Linked DNA regions of Homo sapiens: all the other regions are linked to region 6. Evidence: promoter capture Hi-C in 16 types of primary human blood cells and fetal thymus (Javierre and others, 2016). All regions are on one chromosome and are shown on one strand. The core of a region is centred on a gene start or on the middle of the fragment in contact, and the rest is flanking DNA. Distances in the headings are between cores, read along the strand shown. Region 1 overlaps LOC105370572 (a long non-coding RNA gene). Region 2 overlaps NEK9 (NIMA related kinase 9). Region 3 overlaps BATF (basic leucine zipper ATF-like transcription factor). Region 4 holds the start of JDP2 (Jun dimerization protein 2). Region 5 overlaps TMED10 (transmembrane p24 trafficking protein 10). Region 6 holds the start of LINC01220 (long intergenic non-protein coding RNA 1220).

Region 1 (2,700 bases), core at 187-2,686, 230 kb after region 6:
TGGTGCTTATAAGCATTGAACCAAATTGCCTGAGTTTGAGTCCTAGCTCCAGTGACTTTTCTAGCTGTATGATCTTGGGAATGTTACCTAATCTCCTTGTGCCTCAATATTCCACATACATAAAATGGGGTGAGGTGGGGAAACGGTGCTTACCTCCTGTGACTGTCATGAGAATTAAATGGAGCCAATTCATATACTATTCCCGGTACACAGTAAGTAGCATATGGCAAGGATGCTAGGTATAGTTGTGCAGGTTGTTCACTGTTCAAGGGCTCCAACCTGAGAGGTCAAGTGAGGGCTTGCCAGGCCATACGCTTTGGTATGAGGTTGCCTACCTAGAGGTGGCGCTGTTTTCTAGTTTGTACCAGGCCCTATATCAGCCAGCTGTCAGCATAAGGGTTTGTAGTATCCAGCAACCACTACCTTAATACTATCTTTAGGCTTTAGGCTGATGTTCACTGAGCGCATGCCAGTTTTATTATAACTGTTACTTGGTAGCTTCCTGGAGTTCTCCAGGATAACATCAGTGGGATGTGTATATCCCAAACCTTGCCATTACCATTCAGATACAATGCTGAAAATCAAATAAAAAATATTAGCAAGGTAAAAAGTTTAAAATCCTGCAGGACAATATTATATATTGCTTAGGCATACATACAGGTTTGGTTCAAGTATAGAAAAATGCATAAGAATGATAAACCCCACATCTGGATAATGGGTTACCTGGGGTGGGGAGGAAGCGGAATTAGAAAGGGATGAAGGAAGCTTCGGCTCTATTCATAATTTATTTCTTCAGCTTAATGGTGGCTACATAAGTGTTTATTATTTTTTAATCTTAAATATTTAAAAATAATGTATAATTAATACTATTAAATAAGACCCGTCTTTTTATGTAAAAACTAATTTTGCATTTCTCTCATTAGTCTCTGTTAAATATTAAATCAGTACATTGATTGGGAATGACAGAATCAAGCAATCATTCATTCAACAAGTGTTTACTTGTTGAATGATAGGATGTTCAAAGAGCTAAGAACTTCATCCATACGCTGTAATACTTAGAACGCTTGTAACATTTATAATAACCTGTTTGGTTATTTGACTATGTTTTCTTTTTTCTGTGAGAGCAGAGTCTCTGTCTTATTCATATTTAAGAATTCTGCTCTGTAATAGGTGATAAATAAATGTTAATTTAAACCGAATGAAACATAAATATGACTATTATTGTCCTGAAAGGGCTTTCAATACACTAGGATAATGCAGGTCATAAGTGCCATAAATGAAGAGCAAAGTGAATTCACTTATGCATTCATTCGTTTGAAAACCATTTACTCGGCATCTGTTAGGTACTGAGCATATGACTATAAACAAGAGAAACACAGACTTTGGTTTTTACAGGGCCCACTTCTCACCACTTTCATCACTGTCTAACTGGCCTATGCTGCCAGCATCTTTTGTTTGGATGGTTGCAGTAATCCAATACTGAAATCCTGACTCATCTCCCTGCTTCCACTTTGCTCCCCTATCGTAAAATCTCAACTGTGTCCAGAGAGATCCTCTAAAAACCTAAGTCAGATCATGTCACTCCTCTGCTCTGACACCTCCAATGGCTTCTCATCTGTAGGAGATTGTAGAAATTGCCACAATTAGTTAAATTTTTCCTATCGAGAAGTGAAGTCTGTTTCTCAACTCATTGAGTCTGAACTGGCCTTGTGACTCTCCTCGGCCAATAGAATGTGGCAGGTTCTGAGTTCTGTGCTAGCTCTGAGCCTGGGTTCCATGGGGCTTCGAATGCTTCTGCTCCTACTCTTGGAATCCTGCCACTATCAAATAAACATGCTCCGACCAGCCTGTTGGTGGATGAGAGACCATGTGGAGGAGAAATGCCCAAGGCAAAGCCAGGCCAGACCAGTCAATTATCAGCCAACCTACCAGCTGTCTGAGGACACATGACCGAGCCTAGCCGAGATCAGCCTAGCCCAGCCTATCCCCAAAGAACCTTTCAGATGACCCACAGACTCATGAGCCAAATAAATGGCTTGAGTCATCGAAGTTTCTGGTAGTTTTTTGGGCAGCGAACACTGATAGACTATCTCATTTAGACAAAAAGTCAAGCTTCTTTTTACTAACTGTATCCTCAGTACTTAGTGCCTGGCACATGGTAGATGCACCATGAACGTTTGTTGAATATATTAATAAAGGTGTAAATGGTTTTAACATTCTATTGAGGGAAACAGGAAAAAGATAAATCAGTAAACGAATAAAATAAGTATAAAATTGGGTAACTGCTATGGGAGAAATGAATAGTAGCTGAGGTAGAGGATAAGAATGAAGGTGGAAGGGGAAACCCTCCATGGGCTCACTGTGTCTTTCAGAATGAAAGCTAAAATCCTGATGTTGGCCTCTAAGGCCCTCCCTGACCGGGCCATTACCTCACTGACCTCATCGCCTGCCACTTTTGCTGCCTCTGATATCCAACTACCTGGCCCCCCTGCTCTTTTTCCAATACTCAAGCACACTTCCACCTCAGGTCCTGGAATGTCCTTCCCTGAGACACTCACCATTCACTCCCTCTCTTTCTTCGAATCTCTGCTCAGGTATCCCCTCTTTGGGCAAGGCCCTTCTGACCACCCAGAATTCCCTAACCTCCAACCCTGCTTTATTTTCCTCCATAGGAAAGGAATTTTGTCTTACTTAATTTAA
Region 2 (2,700 bases), core at 68-2,567, 200 kb before region 6:
GACTTCCCAGGTTCAAGTGATCATCCTGCCTCAGCCTCCTGAGTAGCTGGAACTATAGGTGCACACTACTACACCCGGCTAATTTTTTAAATTTTTGGTACAGACAAGGTCTTGCTGTGTTGCCCAAGCTGGTCTTGAGCTCCTAGGCTCAAGTGATCCTCCTGCCTCAGCCTCCCAAAGTGCTGGAATTATAGGCATGAGCCACTGTGCCCAATCCAACATTTTTACTTTCTGTATCTCAACTTTCATCAACCATTTTCCTATTGTAAGGCATTCCAACTGCTCCAATATTCCATTTCTATAAATGACAGTATAAAATCTGTAAGCTTAATCTTTATATACATGTACTACAAAAACTGCCATCAAGGTAGGTTATAGTAACTTATAATACATTCACTTAAGTAACAAGGGTATGAGAACATTTTTTATCTTTTTGGAAAGAAAAAAGGATTAGTGATTAGGCAATTTCTTTCCAGGTAGAAATCAGAAGGCTGGATTCAGGATGCACAACAGTTTACTAGGTACTTGGAAAACTGAGAGACCCTGACAGCTCTTTCTAGTTCCTGCAAAGGGCCACATATTTTATCCAAGTTACTTCTTCCAAAGGAATTACCTTTCGAAGCCAGCCAGGACAGGAGCTGCTGGCCCCATTACTGTTCCCCATGGCCTCTGTGGGACTGATTAAACCTTCCATTCCTCGGTCTGCTTCCATTGTTCCTCGGAAGCCTCCACTTGGGTCAGGAGTTTCAGATTCCTGCTGACTGTCCTCTTCTTCACCACCGCCGCCCCCGCCGCCTCCTCCCGGGCTAGAGCTCTGAAACACTGACAGATATACAGCACAGAAATAGACAGCTTTGCTATGCAGCAAGACAGATTTACCATTTGACAACCCTACTTACCCTGGAAAGGTGCCTATAAGCTGCATGAAGTGCAATGGCAACAGTGCAAGTCAAATGTTAGGGACTAAATTTTTGGTTTTCATACAAACTATGTTTTGTAATTTTGTATAGTTGTATTTGTATATCAGGATGCTCATAATGATAATTCACTTCCATTTACCAACTTTGTTTATCTTGTATCCATAGCAGGTTATCAATATTCTAAAAGCATTACCAAACAATCCCCCCAACCACAGCCCACCAAATCTAGCACCCATGCTTACTCTGCTTCTTTAAGAGATACATTCAGATTCCAGCATCCTCCATAGACACTTATCTTATATAAAAAGGTCTTTAATATTTGAGCCAAACTCCTCTTAAAGTTGCCAGATAAACTTACCATTAACTCCCTGTCCGGGGAAAATCTGAATGTTGAATTCTTCAACTTTTTTTTTTTTATTTGAGACCGAGTCTAGCTTCTGTTGCTCAGGCTGGAGTGCAGTGGCCCGATCTTGGCTCACTGCAACCTCTGCCTCCCAGGTTCAAGCAATTCTCCTGTCTCAGCCTCCCGAGTAGCTGGGATTACAGGCACACACCACCATGCCCAGCTAAGTTTTGTATTTTTAGTAGAGGCGGGGTTTCACTATGTTGGCCAGGCTGGTCTCGAACTCAGGTGATCCACCTACCTTGGCCTCCCAAAGTGCTGGGATTACAGGCGTGAGCCACTGCACCCAGCAATTTTTTTTTTTTGAGGCACAGTTTCATTCTGTCATCCAGGCTAGAGTGCAGTGGCACGATCTTGGCTCACTGCAACCTCCGCCTCCTGGCTTCAAGTGATTCTCGTGCCTCAGCCTCCTGAGTAGCTGGGATTACAGGTGCCCGCCACCATGCCTGGCTAATTTTTGTATTTTCAGTAAAGACAGGGTTTCACCATGTTGGCCAGGCTGGCCTTGAATTCCTGACCTCAAGTGATCCACCCGCCTCGGCCTCCCAAAGTGCTGGGATTACAGGCGTCAGCCACTGCGCCCGGCCAATTCTTCAAAATTTAATGTGAATATTACATTCTCTGACGACTATCTGTATCCATTTTTATAATATAATGGCTGATTCTTTCATATCATACAGCATATTCCAAGCAACCTTAATGAAGACTAGCTGATGTGTGGTCAGGAAATGAAACTGAATTTTAATATGGGCCAAATAAAAATATAATTAAGAAGATTAATCTGTCAAAGTTAAAGAAAAATTGCCTGGTATTTTCTTTTTTTTTTTCTCTTACTCCTCAGGGATCCTTGTTCTGATGCCTGGTATTTTCTGAGGCTAAATGTAAAGAAGGGTTAATTATCACCTGCTGTGCTGGCCTGGGGACTAACTGGGTCATGCTGAGATCCTACGGAAGCAGCAGAACTATAGTTACCAAAGTGAGTTCTGAAGCTTACTTTTTGTTTTAAATGGCTTTTTAAGATTATGCTGCATTTTAGATATACCTAAGACTATTTTAACATACGTGTAAATTTTCATGCCTAACAATAAACATAGGTCTATTTGCCACTAGAACTAGAATTGCACTATCCAATATGAGTTACTAGCCATATGTGCCCGCTTAAACTTAAAGAGAATTAAAAATTCAGTTCCTCAGTCACACAAGCCACTCTCTGGAGTGCTCAATAGCCACAGAAAGCTGGTAGCTACTATACTGAACAGCACCGATATGGAACATTTCCATTGTTGCAAAAAGATCTACTGGACACTGCTGAACTAGAGCATTACCTATATCACTGTATTTGCCGTGTGAATTCCTTCCTTCTCTGGCCTCCTACCC
Region 3 (2,724 bases), core at 64-2,563, 240 kb after region 6:
AAGTAGAGGGGACTGGATTCCTATGACCAAAATGTGATTTCCTGCAACTGAGGACCCTGTAACTAAAAAAGGGTACTCAGCTGGCATAAGAATATGTCTTATCATTAAGAGAGTAGGATGACACAGAAAATTATAAAGCAAAGGCCATATTATCAGTACTAGAGCTGAGATCAGCGGAAGTGATTCATCTACTCAACAAATATTTATCAGCCAGGAACAGTTCGTTCTAGGCACTGAGAATATTGCAGGGACAGGACAGACAGAGTCTCTGATTTCACGAACCTTACAGTCAGTTGGAAGTCAGGCTGGAAAACAAATAAACACACTAATCACATGACATGTAAAGTGCTTCAAAGAAGATGAAATCATGCAATGTGGAAAGTGTCTAAGGGACGGGATTGGGGCAGCGATCAGGGGAGGCCTTCCTGAGGCCCTGGAATTTGAGATCAAAGGTGAATCAAAGAGGAGACTGGAAAGATCTGGGGAGAGGGTGATCTCAGCCTAGAGAGCCTTGAGGCCAAGCTGCGAGGCCAGGCAAAGGTCAGAAAGGTGCTTGGTAAGGTGGAGACCAAGTTCAAGACCATAAGGGAGTGAGGAGGAACTCAGTAATAATGGCAATTGTAGGGCTGAGCACAGTGGCTCACACCTGTAATCCCAGCACTTTGGGAGGCCGAGTTGGTTGGATCATTTGAGGCCAGGAGTTCGAGACCAGCCTGAGCAACACAGTGAAACCCCATCTCTACAAAAAAAAATTTTTTTTAAATATCCAGGCATGCACCTATGGTCCCACCTACTTGGGAGGCTGAGGCGGGAGATTTGCTTAAGTCCAAGAGGTCGAGGTTGCAGTGAGTTGTGATAGCACCACTGCACTCCAGCCTGGGCAACAGGGCAAGATCCTGTCTTTAAAATAAAATAAAATAAAATAAAATAAAATAAAATAAAGGCAATTGTGCTGCTAGGAGCAGGAACTGGATGGGGCATGTGGTGGGGACCCAACTAATTCAAACCCTGCCTGGGGGATTTCTCTGAACCTAAACTCTGATCATAAGTTGAGAAGCAATAGCACCTCACTAGGCTGTTTGACCGTTTAATTGAGAGGGCAAATGTAAGAACAAAGCAATATTGTCATTTTTTTTTTACACTGTTCCTTTGTTTAATGCAGACAGCCTGCCCTTTTCCTAGAAATCAATCAGATATATTATCCTACATGAACACACACGTTCTTCTTTCTGGTTGCTTATAAACTCTTTAAGGATATCAGTAGTTTCAGGGGCTTGGCCTTTCACAACTAGGCAAGTCTCCTTTGTTGGGTATGAATGGAGAGAGGGTCAAATTTGAACTAGGGAAATGGCACGACGAAGTTCTTAAAGTGGTTGTAATTCTGCCACTCCCACGCTGTTGGTTCAGTTTGGGGAATAAACAGAGGTTTGACCTAGGCCTTTTGAAAAAATGAATCTCTTGGATTCATTTGGAAGTATCCCAGATTTACAAAGTAGAAGCTATTAAAGTGTTTGAGTGGTGGTTAATCACTCTCTAGGAATTCTCATGGACATCACAGATTTACTCAGCTGACCCTTCTTCATAGGCACATCTCAGATTTTGGAAAATTATTCCAGATTATAAGTTGGCAGTCAAGCAACGTGATTTGATCGAACACTTACTCTATGGCAGGCACTGTCCTTGTCACTGAGAACAAAACAGTGAAGACAATAATAGCTCCTGCCCTCACAGAGCTCAACAATGTAAATGGTAAGGAAACGAAACGGTTAAAGTTATAATTAATGAAACACGAATAGATCCCTGAGCTCTTGCCTTTCCATTATATGAATGAACTGTGCTGGACTATTTAGAATTGTTTCCACCAATTTAAGAATATAATAGTAGTGTGCTTAAATGGACATTTTGTTTTAGAAATTTTTTTAACTAGAAATAGTCTCCCAACTCTTTAAATTTTTTAATATTATACTATAAATGATAAAATAAAATACATATTTAATAAAATGAAAATATGTAAAAATATAAACTCTTTAAGGATATCAGTAGTTTCAGGGGCTTGGCCTTTCACAACTGGGCAAGTCTCACAAATTTAATTTGTTTGTTAACAAACAAATTTAATAAAATCAAACACTATATAGTTATGTTATATTTTTATTATTTTGAGATAAGGTTTCACTCTTTTCCCAGGCTGGAGTGCAGTGGTGCGATCATGGCTGACTGCAGCCTCCACCTCCCAGGCACAAATGATCCTCCCACCTTGGCCTCCCAAATAGCTGGGACTACAGGTGTGTGCCACTATGCCTGGTTAACTTTTAAATTTTTTGTAAAGATTGGGTATCACTATGTTGCCCAGGCTGGTCTCAAACTTCCGGGCTCAAATGACCCTCCTGCCAAAGAAGCCTCCCAAAGTGCTAGGATTACAGCAACTGCACCTGGCCTTATGTTATTATTAAAAGGAATCCACTATGAACATGATTTTTTGCCCATTTGGCTCACTTAGGAAGCATTTTTAAAGTCTTGATGCCTGCAACCACTCCAGAACAATTAAATTGGAACCTCTGGGGGTCTGGCATCCAGGAATCCAGACTGTTTAAGGCTCTCCGGGTGCTGGCAGTGTGCACAGCCAGGGTTGAGAATCAGAAGCAGTACATTTGCAGCCTATCAGGTCTGTACCTGAATATGTGGAGTGAGTAGAATGTGTGGAGTGAGCAGAATGTGTGGAGTGAG
Region 4 (2,700 bases), core at 66-2,565, 130 kb after region 6:
CTGCACTGGGGAAATAAGGAGAATAAAGTCTCATGCACTCACTCACATGAGAGAGACATGCATGTTCGGGTTTGCTCAATGGCACCCATCTGTCTCAAGTCTTGTTGTTTCTTTCACTCTGAGCATCTGCACTCCAAGAAGGCATGAACTTTTTCTTTCACTTCCTTTCTTCTATGGGTGATGACCTGACATCACTCTCAGAAGGAGGCCGAAAGTCGCTGAGTATAAAAATCGTCACTCCTATCTGGCTTAGGCAGAAGGTAGGGGGCTCGATGGGTACCCAGGAGCTCTGGAGGTAGGAGATGCCATCTAGGGAACCCCGTTCTACCTGAGGGCTCTGTGTCTCTGCCTTTGTATACTGGAGGGCACCATGGATGTCGCCTTCCCTCTGGAGTCCCCTTCACCATTTCCTCTCTAGAAGGATGGAAGGTGGGAGTGGGGTTGGCTATTGAAGCTGGAACGGGGAAGAAGGCCACTTGGGGTCTGCTGAGGGCTGGGTCTGCTCACTGCTGTGTCCGGAGTGGAAAGGAGAAGCCCGCTGGAGCAGGGTACAAGCCCAAGGGTCAAACTGCGCCAGCAGTAGAGCAAGCCGCGGTCTCAGGCTGCAGCCCTAGCAGAGGTCAGGCTGGTGCAGCCAGCCGTCTCGGGGCCTAAGGGCGCTGGCGGGGGCCGGTGGGTAGGGGTAGGAGTCCCCAAATGCCTTCATCTCAGCCCATCCTTCTCCACCGAAAAATAAAGCAGGCTGGCGAGATCGCCTCCTCACCCGCTCAGTCCTGAAGTGTCCAAGGATGAAACTGTGCGGAAATTCTCCCTGTCGCTCTCAGTTTGTGGGGGAAGCGCCGGGACTGAGGTACATGGTTAACACAGGCTGTGCGTGAAGGGGCTTTTGACTTTTCCCCCGGCTCCGGCCTCTCGCGTCTCTCTCCTAGGGCTGCGGCTGCTGCTGCCTGGCGGGCACAAGCCGGGCGGCGGTGCGCGGGGGGTGCGCTTACATAACCGCTCGCCGCGTCCTGCTTTCTCGAGCGCTCCTGCACCGTGGGGTGGCGGAGCCGGGGGACTGCATGGAACCCGGGACGCCCCCGCGGGGAGAGGAGCGCGAGCGGCCGCGGGAGGAGGGCGCCCAAGGCGGCGGGGGAGGTTAAGGTCAGTGGGTGTGAAGCGCCGGCTCCACACCCCCTCCTCCCCGGTCCCCTCCTTCCCTTCCTCTCCGTCCCCCTCTGACGTCTGGAGCTGGCAGCTCGGCCGGTTCCGCATTCCCGACCCCTCCCCGCCGCCCAGGGGCCGCTATATAGCCGGGGCTGATGCAACCCGTCCCGCCGCCCGCCACAGCCTGCGGGAGGGACGCTCGGCGGCCGCGACGGGGGGCGCTGGCGGCGGCGGACGCTGCAGCGGCGGCGGGGCTGGCGCCGCGGCGGCTCCCGGGCCGGGACAGGCCTGGGCACCGGGCGGAGCTCCGCGGCCGGGCGGCAGCGGCGCGGAGCGGGCACGGCGCCTGCAGCCGGGCCCCGGCCCCGGGGGCGCCGCCTCCCCCCGCACCTTCTGCACGGTGGGTGCGAGGGCGCGCGCTGGGGGCGCCGGGACGGGCGGGGCGGGGCAGGGCGCGGCGCGGGCACCTGGGACGGCCGCCCCCGCACGGGCGGAGCGCGAGGAGCCCCAGCCCAGCCCCGCGGGGAGGCTCCCGCAGCCCAGGGACCTCGAGCTTTCCCCGCGCCGGGCGCTGCAGCCGGGCCCCTCCCGCGAGGCGCCCGGCAGCCTGAGGCTTCCTTTTGGTTCCCGCCCCGGGACGGGAGGCTCCGTCCGCTCCCTGGACAGCCGGGGTGCTCCCTCCTTCTCCCTCCCGCGCTCTCCTCCCCCGTCCGTTTGCAGGGAGGTGCTCTCCTCGGGCGGCGGGGAAGGCGGGGTGAGTGGGGAGAAAAGTGCCCGCGGAGATGGGCTGTGCGGGTGGAGGTGGAGGGTGAAGGGCCAGGGAGGTGCGGGGTTGGGGTCGGGGTTAGATTGTGGAGGGATGACAAGGACCTCCTGGCAGTGAGGAAGCGCGACTCCCGGAGGACCCGGACCCGGAGGAGAGTATTGAGAAGGGCTCGGGATTTCCATCCAATGAAGGCAGCTTCTCTCATGGCCATTGCTTCGGAGCTCTGGGCTGGGAGGGGATCTAGGGGTGGCCGGGGTCCCCTTTGGGCTCTCCTGTCTCCCACGCCAGGTTATATAAGGAGGCAAGCAGGCTCCTGTAGGTAACCAGCCTCTCCCTTGCCCAGCCCAGCTTAGAAGGCTCTCCTCTGCTCCTCCCTTCAAAGGAGGTTGTCGAGGGGTAGGGGTGCAGTGGGGGGTGGGAGAGTGTAGGGGTGGATTGGGCCTTCCACCTGGATCCCTGGACCCTGGGATGGCAGAGCCAGGCTTTGCCTGGGTCAGTAGGAGGAGCAGGGAAGATGAGGAGGCTGGGGAAGATGGGGAGGTCCTGGCTCTTTTGCAGGGATGGAGAGGCTGGTGGAAGGAGAAATCAGCCGACCCCCTTGGGTCATCTCCAGTTGCAAGATGGCGTGGCCCTTGCCCAGGGTGCTGCCCTCCCTGTTGGAATCCAGGGCATGGGGCTATGGCCCGACCACGTGTGCTCAGGGCAAATGTGCTCAGGTCTATATCTCAGAAAGGGCTTGCAGCCTGCTTAGGCGTGTGTACCCAGGCTTAAATCTTGGTGGTCTCTCC
Region 5 (2,700 bases), core at 10-2,509, 140 kb before region 6:
CTGGGAAGATAGAGACACTATCTATGAAAGACAATTGATAGTTCTCATTATGATGACTATGTTCCAACCATCCCCAAAGACAAAAACTGGATTAGAAGATTAAATCCAAATACAGCAAATTTCATCCATTCAAATAGCCTAATCACACTGTGGGCTAAAATCTGTTGCTGCTATAGGATGTCTTACCATACCAAAAAGTTAATCTAGCTAATGCTCCAAGTTACATACATTGGATTTATTGGCAAAAACTCACTAGTATCATTCCGCATAGAGGAACATGTCACAAAAATGAAAGTAGACAATTATCAAAAGATTATACAAGAGGGACAAAGATATATAAAAACACATTTATTCTATAAAACAAATTTGATGGGGAAGGGGTGTGGGTGGAGAATAAAATTAGGACACACAATACAAGGACAGCAGGAAGAAAAGCATACATAGAGAAGACAATCCAGGAGATCTATTCCTGCAAATTTCATGTTAATTATGTCAACGGCCAGGTAGAGTGGGAACAAAACACAGGAAACAAAAAAGAAGTTTCTGGCCAGGCATGGTGGCTCACGCCTGTAATCCCAAACTTTGGAACGCCAAGGCAGGAGGATCACTTGAGCTCAAGAGTTCAAGACCTGGCTGGGCGCGGTGGCTCACGCCTGTAATCCCAGCACTTTGGGAGGCCGAGGCGGATGGATCACGAGGTCAAGAGATCAAGACCATCCTGGCCAACCAACATGGAGAAACCTCGTCTCTACTAAAAATACCAAAATCAGCTGGGCGCAGTGGCATATGCCTGTAGTCCCAGCTACTCAGGAGGCTGAGGCAGGAGAATCGCTTGAACCTGGGAGGCGGAGGTTGCAGTGAGCCAAGATTGCGCCACTGCACTCCAGCCCAGATGACAGAGTGAGATTCTGTCTCAAAAAAAAAGTGTTCAAGACCAACATGGCGAAACCTCATCTCTACAAAAAATACAAAAATTAGCCAGGCATGGTGGTGCGCACCTATAGTCCCAGGTACTGGGAAGCTTGCCGTGTCACTGCAGCCTGGGTGACAGAGCAAGACTCTGTCTCAAAAAAACAAAAACAAAAACAAAAAGGAGAGAAATTTATCCTAAAAAAAAAAAGGTATCTTTGGCTTCCATAAATGATTATTCCTTTCTTCTAGATCCTTAGCTTTAGCTCTTCAGACTTAAGCTGCTCTATTACCAAAGAATGGCCTATCAGCACAGAATAAAGGGCATATACTGCTAAGTAAACAGCCACATACAAAGCAAGGGAATTCCATGGTAATTTAACAGACTGGATCTTAGCCTTCATTTCTAGAGCACGTGGCTGTCTTAGTAGAAAGCATATTTCATCACTTAAGACTGGAAGCTACTTTGCAATGTGGAACACAAAAGTAGTGGCTTAATTACATTAAACTGGATGTTCTAATGCTATTTGTTAAAACATAATTCTTTTAAGGGGAAATTTTAAGCAGGAAAATTAAGTAGCACACATTTAAGCTTATATATTTAAAAGTACTTTATAACAGTAGTTATTTCTGAGGGGTGAGACTTTCTATTTTTTTTTCCCTTTTTTTTTTTGAAATGGAGTCTCACTCTGTCCCCAGGCTGGAGTGCAGTGGCGTGATCTCGGCTCTCTGCAACCTCCGCCTCCCGGGTTCAGGTGATTCTCCTGCCTCAGCCTCCCGAGTAGCTGGAACTACAGGCACCCACGACCATGCCCAGCTAATTTTTTTGTATTTTTAGTAAAGACAGGGTTTCCCTGTGTTGGCCAGGATGGTCTCGATCTCCTGACCTCATAATCCAACCCGCCTCGGCTTCCCAAAGTGCTGGGGTTACAGGCGTGAGCCACCACACCCGGCCTTTTTTGAAAATGACATGTAGCCGGGCGTGGTAGCTCTGCCAGGTGCAGTGGCTCACGCACCTGTAATCCCAGCACTTTGGGAGGCCGAGGCAGGTGGATCACCTGAGGTCAGGAGTTTGAGACCAGCCTGGCCAACATGGTGAAACCCCGTCTTTACTAAAAATACAAAAAAAAAAAAAAATTAGCCAGGAGTGGTATTGGGCGCCTGTAATCCCAGCTACTTTGGAGGCTGAGGCAGGATAATCGCTTGAACCCGGGAGGCAGAAGTTGCGGTGAGCCGAGACTGTGCCACTGCACTCCAGCCTGGGCAACACAGCGAGACTCTGTCTCAAAAAAAAAAAAAAAAAAAAAAAAAAAAAGGCATGTATCACTGGATCACTTATATTCAAAAATAATAATAAAGTTATTTTATTTTGGAAAAAATTGATAATAACTAAAGAAAAGTTATCACTACTAGATAAATTTGAAATGACAGATTAACTAAAAAAAGTTTTATGGCACATCTTCTAAATTCCCTAATAAACAGTAGTATTAGTCAACTGTCTTCTGCCATCCAGCACCATTTGCTAATTTGTCAAACTTTTAAATTTATTTTTATTTATTTATTTTTGAGACAGAGTCTCGCTCTGTCACCCAGGCTGGAGTGCAGTGATGCGATCTCGGCTTACTGCAACCTCTGCCTCCCGGGTTCAAGCGATTCTCCTGCCCCAGCCTCCCAAGTGGCTGGGATTACAGGCACATGCCACCACACCCGGCTAATTTTTTGTATTTTTGGTAGAGACGGGGTTTCACCGTGTTAGCCAGGATGGTCTTGATCTCCTGACCTCGTGATCCA
Region 6 (2,712 bases), core at 83-2,582:
CAGGCTGGTCTAGAACTCCTAGGTTCAAGTGATCCTCCTGCCTTGGCCTCCCAAAGTGCTGGGATTACAGGCGTGGGCCACAGCGCCCGGCCCCCTTTTATTTTAAATCTAAAGAAGACTCGAGAAAAAAAACATTACGTCAGTAGTAGATTTAGGAGATGCACTACTAATACTACGTAAGTTTCTCTTGTGCTGCCTGGGAATAAAAATAAACACTTAACACTAACTTGGGGCTCACAACATGCTTGACACTGTTCCAAACACACACACACACACACACACACACACACACACACACACTCATTTTAAAAGTCCTCATCTACTCTTAAAGGTAGGTCCTGCTATTATCCTTATTTTTGTAGATAATAATATAGTCTGGGGCGCAGAGGTCTGCTCAAGATCATCCAACTGGAGTGGCAGCGCTGGAATTAGAGTCCAGGCAGTGTGGCTTCAATGCCTGAACTCTTAGCCATTAGAAAGGAAAAACAAAGCAAAATCAGTATCCGCAACAACCTTGCAGGCACGGAGGCCCTCAGAAGGGACAGGAGAGGCCGGGCGCGGTAATCCCAGCACTTTGGGAGGCCGAGGCGGGCGGATCACCTGAGGTCAGGAGTTGGAGACCAACCTGGCCAACGTGGTGAAATCCTGTCTCTACTAAAAATGTAAAAAATTAGCCGGGTACGGTGGCGCGCGCCTGTAGTTCCAGCTACTTGGGAGCCTGGGGCGGGAGAATCGCTTGAACCGGGAGGCAGAGGTTGCAGTGAGCAGAGATCGCGCCAGTGCACTCCAGCCTGGGCGATAGAGCGTGACTCCATCTCAAAAAAAAAAAAAAAAAAAAAAAAAAAAACAAAGGAAAAGAAAAAGAAGGGACAGGAGGGCCTCCTTCCGCTCCTGACCAGCCCCTGCTGGCCCGTGGGCAGAGGGAGAGCCGGCTTCCAGGGACCTCAGGGAGGGACGTTTGGGAGTGCTCTCTCAGCGTCCCCTCCACCGCCCTCTCTACACCCTTGCCGCGCCCCTGTCCTCGTCGGCCAGGCCAAGGTTTCTCCTGGCCCTTCCCAGCTTCCGGCCCTTTGCTCCAGGGCAGGTCGCAGGGCCAGACGGTGCCAGGAGCTCGCGAGTCCTCTGTTTACTGTTTGGTTTCCACGGTGACACGTAGGCGCCGTCAGCGACTCCCGTCACCGCCCCGCAGCGCGGCCCCCACCCGGCGCCGTGACGCCGGCCCGCCGCTTCCGCTCTGCCCATATTTGGCTCAGCCACTGCGCCGCCGGCCCGGGGTAGGCTGTGGGCGGGACTCCCGCCGCGCCCCGCCCCCGGTCCCTGCCCCGCCCCTGGAATGCTGGGCGAAGGCTCCGAGCCACGAGACCCCCGCCTCCTGTCCCGGGACCCACCCAGGCGGAGGCAAGGGCAGGGGCGCTGGGGGCCCAGAGAGAGGGCGCCGCGATGGATGAATGAGCTGTTTCCAGCATTCCTGTGCGTCTGCTGGTTGTAGCTGCAGTCAAGATTTGGGGCGGTCTCGTTTGTTGTGGGTGGGTGATCTGGGATCACGATTTTCTCACTCTGTGCCCGGAAATCATGCCATCTCTCGCCCAACGCTGTATTTTATAGGCTTCAACTCAAAATTTTCCTTCATGGCACAGTGGAAAGCTTTGAAGACGGCGGTTCTGGGGTCAGTGTTGCCCCTCGGGGGATAAGTGACCTTGGGAAGGCCATTTTCCTTTTCCTGGCATGATAAAACGAACCGTGGGGGTGGTCCATAATGGTTGCAGCACTGTCATCAGGCTTGTGAGGGGAGCTTTTCCATCACCCTCTAACCACCCCCTCCCCAGGACATAACTGGAATATCAGTGAAGTTCTTTGAGCATCGACCCCCTACAGTTCTGCCCCCTGTGGTGATTGGATTTGTGTGTCTCTGCACCTTGCTCCTATTAGGCGCTTAATGAACTTTAGTTAACTGATTATTGAATGAATAATACGAATCACCTTCATAAATCCGGACCCCTGCAATTCCTCTTCCAGGCCGGGCGAGGGGGAGGGTAGGGGATGGGGGAGAATATTGAGATGATTAATAATCGCGCGGCAGGGTTGCTGATGTAAAGCGATTTGCAGATCTAAAGGGCAATAAGCATTCCTGGGAGAAATCCAGCGAGATTCCAGAAGTCTCTGAGGGAGCCGTGGGTGTGTACCGCCGGGCCCAGAGGGCGGGGGTGGGGCAGGCAGTGCCGCAGTGGCCGCTGCTGGGGAGCCGATTGCAATTGCGAGGAGAAGCGTGGGGTTAATCCTTCAAGACGCCTGTCACCATCCTCCCACCCCCATCCCTGCCCCCTAGATTCCCCAGTTCCTCTGGCTGAAGGAGTGTGTGTTTTCCAGAGTTTCAGAGCTGGAAGTCACATCGGAGACTTTTAATCTAATTTAACCTATTTCGCCAACAGGGAAATTAAAGCTCAGAGAAGTTGGTTCGACCATCCAAACTTGCACAGCTAGTTAGAAACTGATAAAAGTCAGGATATCTAGCTTCAAATAGTGTTCCACATCGCCTAGGTGCTTCTAATTTCCTGTGCTTCAGAACCCTGTTGCCTGGCTCAGCTGGTGGGTTGTACATTTAGGCTAAATATTGACTTCAGGGCTCTTAAAGAACGCCATTGTCACGTCTGCTGCCACACGCAGCCCACACCATGACACCAGGGCCTGGGGGGGATGGCCAAGAATTGTGTA

What was found. The method cuts DNA at HindIII sites, captures the fragments that hold promoters and counts their contacts. A CHiCAGO score of 5 or more calls a contact.
Region 1: a fragment that was not itself captured here is called in contact with the fragment with the promoter of LINC01220 in region 6 in 2 of 17 cell types (activated CD4 T cells and naive CD4 T cells); the score reaches 7.3 in activated CD4 T cells.
Region 2: a fragment that was not itself captured here is called in contact with the fragment with the promoter of LINC01220 in region 6 in 2 of 17 cell types (endothelial precursors and activated CD4 T cells); the score reaches 6.2 in endothelial precursors.
Region 3: a fragment that was not itself captured here is called in contact with the fragment with the promoter of LINC01220 in region 6 in 1 of 17 cell types (activated CD4 T cells); the score reaches 9.0 in activated CD4 T cells.
Region 4: a contact is called between the fragment with the promoter of JDP2 here and the fragment with the promoter of LINC01220 in region 6, in 1 of 17 cell types (monocytes). The highest score is 13.5, in monocytes.
Region 5: a contact is called between a fragment that was not itself captured here and the fragment with the promoter of LINC01220 in region 6, in 14 of 17 cell types (total CD8 T cells, activated CD4 T cells, total B cells and 11 more). The highest score is 19.0, in total CD8 T cells.

What each region holds. Positions count from the first base shown.
Region 1 is chr14:75,518,576-75,521,275 of GRCh38, forward strand. LOC105370572 (a long non-coding RNA gene) reads left to right here. Exons shown (of 3, transcript XR_944037.3): 3 at 1-1,199. Among named protein-coding and RNA genes, the nearest start is that of BATF, 2.5 kb to the right of the region's middle. The HindIII fragment of the contact is 1,347 bases long and covers 764-2,110 here.
Region 2 is chr14:75,090,657-75,093,356 of GRCh38, forward strand. It overlaps NEK9 (NIMA related kinase 9), which reads right to left. Exons shown (of 22, transcript NM_033116.6): 19 at 614-822. Among named protein-coding and RNA genes, the nearest start is that of ZC2HC1C, 22 kb to the left of the region's middle. The HindIII fragment of the contact is 1,986 bases long and covers 325-2,310 here.
Region 3 is chr14:75,535,820-75,538,543 of GRCh38, forward strand. The region is part of intron 2 of BATF (basic leucine zipper ATF-like transcription factor); the gene reads left to right. Among named protein-coding and RNA genes, the nearest start is that of BATF, 15 kb to the left of the region's middle. The HindIII fragment of the contact is 5,692 bases long and covers 1-2,724 here.
Region 4 is chr14:75,426,707-75,429,406 of GRCh38, forward strand. It overlaps JDP2 (Jun dimerization protein 2), which reads left to right and starts at 1,316. Exons shown (of 4, transcript NM_001135048.2): 1 at 1,316-1,546. JDP2-AS1 (JDP2 antisense RNA 1) reads right to left here and starts at 949. Exons shown (of 2, transcript NR_184172.1): 1 at 764-949; 2 at 1-5. RefSeq lists enhancers at 85-184, 435-764, 785-844, 812-1,369 and silencers at 1,035-1,304, 1,555-1,734, 1,795-1,964. The HindIII fragment of the contact is 6,934 bases long and covers 1-2,700 here.
Region 5 is chr14:75,152,207-75,154,906 of GRCh38, forward strand. The region is part of intron 1 of TMED10 (transmembrane p24 trafficking protein 10); the gene reads right to left. Among named protein-coding and RNA genes, the nearest start is that of TMED10, 23 kb to the right of the region's middle. RefSeq lists an enhancer at 158-822. The HindIII fragment of the contact is 480 bases long and covers 1,020-1,499 here.
Region 6 is chr14:75,293,072-75,295,783 of GRCh38, forward strand. It overlaps LINC01220 (long intergenic non-protein coding RNA 1220), which reads left to right and starts at 1,333. Exons shown (of 3, transcript NR_038421.1): 1 at 1,333-1,470; 2 at 1,606-1,666. RefSeq lists an enhancer at 901-1,040 and a silencer at 1,111-1,570. The HindIII fragment of the contact is 10,176 bases long and covers 1-1,642 here.